2 separate regions of the Homo sapiens genome follow, and region 2 is linked to region 1. The links are contacts of gene promoters, found by promoter capture Hi-C in blood cells and fetal thymus (Javierre and others, 2016). All regions are on one chromosome and are shown on one strand. Each heading gives the region's core, a stretch centred on a gene start or on the middle of the fragment in contact. The rest is flanking DNA. Distances are from core to core; before and after follow the strand shown. Region 1 holds the start of ARF6 (ARF GTPase 6). Region 2 holds the start of ATL1 (atlastin GTPase 1).

Region 1 (3,443 bases), core at 173-2,672:
GATCAGAGCATCCTAACGCAAAGCCAACAAAAAAAAAAAAAAAAAAAAAAGGAAAAAGAAAGGGAAACAAACAAAAGAGAAAACCCCCAAGCCCCGTCCCCGCCAAACTGTAGAACAGTAACTCCAGAGTTCAAATTCAAAAGAAGAGAAAGTGGCAATTGAAAGAGGTGATGGTGGCGATAATCCTATGAATGGGTTTTTGATTTCTCTCCTTCCAGGGGATGGGTGGAGAATGCTCATTAAGATTTGTAGTTAGAGGTTAACCATGTGAGCCCCTCATAGAGTCCGTCCCCTGAGGTGGCACAGGAGGGCTGCACATACCAGTTCCTGTCCCGAATCCGGGTCAGGCCCAGTTTCTCCTGGATCTCGTGGGGTTTCATGGCATCGGGCAGGTCCTGCTTGTTGGCGAAGATGAGGATTATGGCGTCCCTCATCTCCCGGTCATTGATAATGCGGTGCAGCTCCTGGCGAGCCTCATCGATGCGGTCGCGGTCGGCGCAGTCCACTACGAAGATGAGACCTTGGGTCCCAGTGTAGTAATGCCGCCAGAGCGGCCGGATCTTGTCCTGGCCGCCCACATCCCATACGTTGAACTTGACATTTTTGTAAGTCACCGTCTCCACGTTGAAACCCACAGTGGGAATGGTGGTCACCGACTGGCCCAGCTTCAACTTGTACAGGATTGTTGTCTTGCCGGCCGCGTCCAGGCCCAACATGAGGATCCGCATTTCCTTGTTCCCGAAGATTTTGGATAGCACCTTCCCCATCGCGTCGGAGGAGCCGGGGCCGGGGGCATTCAGGTGTCCCGGGTCCCCTCAGCCAACAACGCCGCCGCCGCCGCGAAACCGAAACGAAGCCTCTCGGCCGCGAGAGCGCCTTTGCGGCCTGCGTGGGAGTTGCCTCCTAAGGGCAGAGGCCCAGGCCCCCCGCTCACTCGGGCATCACCGACCGCACAACTTGATTTCTCCAGTCGCCGCCGCCACCCGGGCCCTGAGACTGCGCTGGGAGCCGCCGCCCTGCTGAGGCGCGGCCCGGCCCGGAACTGCCCTTCCCCCCGCAGGCGCCGCGCGAGCGCCGCCGCGGTTCCCGCTCCTCCGCCTTCCTCTCACCGCGAGGGAGACTGCAGCCCTCCGGCCCGCCCGCCGGCCTGCGAGCACTGGGCTCCCCACCGACCCAGGACACCCGAGAGGCAGCGCGGCTCCGGGGCCCCGTCAGGTCATGGATCCTCGCGGGAACTCGGTGCGCTGCCTGCAGAGAAACAGAGAGGGAGGGGAGTTACTGCCAGAGCTCCACAAAGGAGCGAAGACCGAGGTGGCCCGCCTTTCCAGCTCGGCCCAAGGGGTTACCTCCAGCCGCCGCCCCGAGCGCGGGCTCCCTCCGGCCTCCAACTCCTCCTCCCAGTTCTGCCGCCGCCGCTGCCGGAAAAGGCGCCGAGGAAACCGCCTCACTTCCCCTCCCGACCACGCAGGCGCAGCAGAGGCCGACCGTTCGGACAAGAGCGACCTCTGTAAGGAGAGCGGCCCGCGCGCCTAGCGTCATGGGCGCCACGCGCCGGAGGGGCGGGGCTACGGCGCCTCGGAGGGCTCGCAGATGCGGCCGGCCCAGAGCCCTCGAACCTCGGACTCTGACTCGCGCCTACCCGTGGCTCTTCTAGCGTCTCCTTCCCTGCTTTTCTCTTTTGCGCTCTGCCCTCCCCTGCCCACCCGAACCAAGGGAGCAGATCTACTGGGGGGCCCTACAGGGTGGGGCCCACGGGCAGCCCGCTCTCTCCACGAACCGAGCTGCCTCCAGGCCTGTTCCCAGACCTCGGTGCCCGCCAGATGCTCTGCGAATTCCCTCCGCCCGCCCCAGCCTTCCCGCACCCTCCGCGCTCCCTGAACGTCCCAGGGAAGCTCTGTTCGCTTTTGTTTTTTTTTTTTTTCCCTTTTTCGCAACCCCTTCTTGGCTTCCTTTATCCCTTGAATTTTGTATGTTTCCTGAAAGACACGTGGGAGGCCAGTGTCTCGTGTGGAATCTGCCAGTCAGTGCAGCGCTTTCCCGGAGTTGAGTTTACTCTGCAGCTCTTTTGAATGTTTGAGCCCTGTCTGCCTATAGGTCTCGTCAAGACCAGCCCATGTTTCTTAAAAACTGCAGTATTATGAAGAGTTCCTGTGCCTTGCCGCGTTTTCACCTTTTTAGAATGCGACATCTGTTCATCTTTAAAATATCATTTTATCTCATACTGTTAGTAGTAGCTTCTTAACTACTACCCATTCTTAACTTTAAGAAGCATAGAATTTAGAATATAGAACGACCGCTTGTATGGCCTGGATCTGGGCACTTAACCTTACTAAGTTTATCTCGTGTAAACTGACCTTGCTAACTCACGTGAGGCTTAAATAATACAATGTGGAAGACTTCAGGGCACATTTTTGGTTTTTTGGTTTTTGTTTGTTTCTTGAGACGGGGTCTCACTCTGTCGCCCAGGCTGGAGTCCAGTTGCACAATCTCGGCTCACTGCAGCCTCCTCATCCTGGGTTCAAGCAGTTCTGCCTTAGCCTCCGGAGCAGCTGGAATTAGGTCGCCCACCACCACGCCCGGCTAATTTTTGTATTTTTAGTAGAGACGGGGTTTCACCATGTTGGCCAGGCTGGTCTCGAAGTCCTGACCTCAGGTGATCCACCCGCCTCGGCCCCCCAAAATGCTGGGATTACAGGCGTGAGCCACTGCGCCCTGCCAAGGACACATTTTTGTATCAAATGGTTAATGATAAAATTAGACTTAAAATAACGTGAAACCTTCAAATATCAAGGGGAGAAAAACAGGAAATGGGTATCTTTGTTTAAAAAGCAAGATGCTATAAACAGCATATGGTAACATACTGTTTTTATTAAACAAATTTAAAATATTAGATAATGGTAGATAGGTTATATGATAACCTTATAAACGTCATTTCAGTCGGAAATAAACTTATTAAACATTAATATTCTAACAATTATTTCATTTACTTTCCATTTACCTTAAGATGAAGCACTGTCATAAAACTGAAAAGCTTAGGAGTCTGAAGATTGGGGTTCAAGTGTCATCCCCAACCCCACCTCTCTATTTTTGGGACAAGGTCTCGCTCTGTCACCAAGGCTGCAGTGCAGTGGTGCGATGTCAGCTCACTGCAGCTTCAGCCTCCTAGGCTCAAGAGATCCTCCCACCTCAGCCTCACCAGTATCTGGGACTAAAGGCGTGCGCCACCACGCCTGACTAATTTCTCTATTTTTTGTAGAGACAGGTTTTGCCATGTTGGCCAGACTGGTCTGGAACTCCTGGCCCCAAGTGATCTGCCCGCCTCGGCCTCCCAAAGTGCTGGCATTACAGGCAAGAGCCACCGCGCCTAGCCCTTTTTTAATTTTTATCTAGACACCTGGGTTATGTTTTTGTGTTTTGTGTTTTTGTTTTTTGTTTTTGAGACA
Region 2 (3,320 bases), core at 675-3,174, 670 kb before region 1:
CATCTCAAAAAAAAAAAAGTTTATAGCCAAAGGAAATTCTGCGCAATAATGATCCAAAGCTTCATAAAGGAGAAAAATTTTAATCCTCAGAATACATTTTCACATGCTTCTGTTAACAGGGTGGAGACAACAATTCATGGAGACTGAGACCAAAAGTGACTTGAATATACGCACCCTAATTGTGTGTGTTCAATAAATTCCTATTCTAGAGGCCAAGAGAACGGGTGGAAAGGGGATACACTGCAAATGCTTACTTAAATTTCAGAAGAAGGAAATAAAACTTATTGCAATAGTCAGGTAGGTCTGTTAAAACTGAAGTTTCATGATCTCAGAAAATGGAACCACTTTCTCTTAAACTCAGCTAAGTCATGACAGACCTCCCCGCTCCAACTCTCCATGCCTACCACAAACCTTGGATAATCTCCCAAATGTAAACCTTGTCTACCGTATCCTGTGACCATTAGAACAATCAGAGGCAAGGAGATACACGGTCTTTTGATTAAAGTAAACTGAAATAACCAATTAAAATTTACATTTGTGCCTCTCGCTCAAATAAACAGTTATAGAAGAGCTCTCACTGAGATGTGGAACAGAATCAAGCAGCTCTGAACTTTTCAAATAATAACAACTGTTATTTCCAAATAACAATTTCTAAATAACAAGCTGATGAACAAAATATTTATTTACCCACCAAGCCACAGTAGCCTGAGACATTCTCTGGTTCAGATAATAAAATAAATGCCTTAGAGGGCTTTCGTTCCTAAGATGCTGGTGAGTTTAGCACTGTGACTGCAAGAAATCGGGAACCTACGACAAAAAGACGCCCAGCCTGCCCACACTAACCGTCCAGAACTAGGTCTGGAGCAGCAAGGCGGGCGGGGCCGCGATTTCTTCCGCATCGCTGCGCCCGTTCTTCTCCGCCTGCGTGAGCACCGCCCACCCACTCGCGGTGTGAACATACTGGGTCTCGCCTCTCCTTTCCCCTCCCCTCGGCCTGGTGCTGAATCATGAGCCCAATGTCTCCAAAAGGTAAAATCAAAGAACAAAGCCACCCTTGGGGCTGGTCTGAATGGGGTACCACGTCGGGGTGGGGCAGAAGGCTGGAAACCACAACTTTGCTCTCCTTCTTCCCCAATTCCCCCACCCAACCCCCAAATTAAGAGGAGTACTGCAGTGCTCAGGAATTCCCAAGAGGGTGGCCCTTCTCCCAGTTGCTCGGTCTGCTACCGTCCGTCCGGGACCCGGCGCGCTCCGCCTCATTGTTCCAGCGCGCCGCCCGCCGCCCGCCGCCGGGAGCCCGCGCCCTGCAGAGCCAGCGAGTTGGCGGCTCCCGGGGAGGGGGGTTGGGGCTTGGCCTGCTCTAGATCCCCGACCCCTCGCCCCTCTGGGGCCGAGTAACAACAGCCCCCTGCCCACCCCCATAGCCTTCCTCCCAACCGATCGCTAAGGCGGAACCCACAAGTCCCCGGAGGCGCCTGGTGGGTGCTGTCCAAATGCTGGGAGGAGGCGGGAGGGGGGTGGGGAAGAAGGAGCTGGAGGCCCGGCCTGCGCGAAGCTGCAGCCCTCACCCCGACAGCGCGATTCGGTGACGCGGGTACCGCTCGGCCATGGTTCCTCCGCCCAAACAGGGAGCGGCTCGGCTACGGCCCGTCTCCCAGCCGTGGACGCAGGCACCTAGCAGCCCTTGGCCCTCCCTGTCTCCACAGAAGCAGAAAGTGGAGGGCCAGAAGACCCCGTGCAGGCTGCAGAAGTTCTCATTTGCTACTCACCCCAACTGTTTCTGTCCCTGCGGTTCTTGGCCATGGTGGTCCAGGAGCTGGTGGCGGTGAGGCGCTGTCACTGCGCTCGCTGCCTTCTCCGGGGCCGCAGGTTGCTGGCGGTGGGAGGCTCCGTGCCCGCGCTGGGCGCAGTTCGCTCAGACTCTGAGGATGTTGCTGTGGCGCTGGTGGGAAGGAGTGGGGAGGAAAAGGGAGGAGAAAGCAGATGAACCAAGCTCAGCATCACAAGCCCGAGTTCACACAGATACCAGCGTCACACCCTCCCTACCTCAGTCCACCCCCAGACCGTGAAGACAGTGATAGACCACGTACCGCAACATTTTCAACGGAAAACACAAACAAATAAACAGCACCCCCCTCGAACACACTCTCAAAGAATTTAACAGCGTTATCAGAAATACACAAACCGATATACTGCATGATTCTGGATGTTCAAATACCTGTTTCAAGCACGGTTATACATTAGTACAAACAAGCTGGCAACATTTATATAGCCAAAGTAGCTAAAATAATGTGCATTTATCTACGAGGCACCCATTTTTTTTTCCATTTTAAAAGCAAGGTCATGTTAGTAAAGAGGGTATCATGCATTTTTGTATATGTATACTGAGTAGTTTGTCTTAAAATTAGAATAGCAAAATTTATATCAAGAAGATCAAGATAAATGAAAGCTGTAGATTCATTACGATCTGTAACTCAATATCCACTGGGTAAAATTTCCCACTAGATTTGCAAAGATAAGGTCCAGACCTATAGTCCAATAGCAATTATTTGAGCTGAAATCATACTACATAGTCTGGGTATGGGTGGGCCCTGGCAGCCATAAAGGTTGCAGACAATTTTGAAAGGAAAAGAAAAAAAATAAAAATACTTTCAATCTTTCCCTTTTCACTGCTTTCTCTCTGCTACAAACTTAGTTGTTTTCAGTAACCTGGAAACACTGTCCCTTTATACTACCTCAACCTCAAGATACCATCATGCCGTCCCTTACAGTTTCCTTCTGCCATTTGGTTGTTACTCACACTCTGTACTGATCGGTTCTTAGGAGATCACTGCCAGCCTCTTAATTACCAGATCCATGATCTCTGCTAATTCCTCATGGTAAGCAACTCCTCACGCTACACTCTCTCAATGTAATTTACTATGATGGCTTCAGACAGGACCTCCATGCTGATGATTCCCAAATCTATACTTGTAGTCTTCTGCCCTCTAGAAGAGAGGACATTATACCAGAGGTGTGTTTATAACTGCCTAAGGTTATCCTCACGTTGTTTTCCTACTGACATTTGAACATCAACATATCTGAAAACAAACTCCCCCACCACTGCCAAATCTTATGCATTATATTTCAGTTACTGGTTCTAGTGACTGCAGAGTCGTGAACACTGTAACCAAGTTTACAACATGGTTTTAAAGAAGTCTGTGCTCAACAGAGTTGAAATGACATTAATGAAACAACATAGGAAGACAGACATTATCTCATCCTTATACCTATAAACCAAGTTCATAGAACAAAAGAGAAGTGTGGTCTGCTTTTCTTCT

Evidence for each region. The method cuts DNA at HindIII sites, captures the fragments that hold promoters and counts their contacts. A CHiCAGO score of 5 or more calls a contact.
Region 2: the fragment with the promoter of ATL1 here is called in contact with the fragment with the promoter of ARF6 in region 1 in 1 of 17 cell types (fetal thymus); the score reaches 5.3 in fetal thymus.

The regions. Positions count from the first base shown.
Region 1 is chr14:49,891,061-49,894,503 of GRCh38, reverse strand. ARF6 (ARF GTPase 6) reads right to left here and starts at 1,422. Exons shown (of 2, transcript NM_001663.4): 1 at 1,347-1,422; 2 at 1-1,248. The coding sequence starts at 767. The coding sequence ends at 240. RefSeq lists enhancers at 493-542, 573-892, 1,763-1,862 and silencers at 1,053-1,242, 1,283-1,672. The HindIII fragment of the contact is 6,329 bases long and covers 1-3,033 here.
Region 2 is chr14:50,558,749-50,562,068 of GRCh38, reverse strand. It overlaps ATL1 (atlastin GTPase 1), which reads right to left and starts at 1,924. Exons shown (of 14, transcript NM_015915.5): 1 at 1,770-1,924. The coding sequence starts at 1,803. It also overlaps a transcript of MAP4K5 not described here. RefSeq lists a silencer at 1,230-1,589 and an enhancer at 1,331-1,830. The HindIII fragment of the contact is 3,968 bases long and covers 62-3,320 here.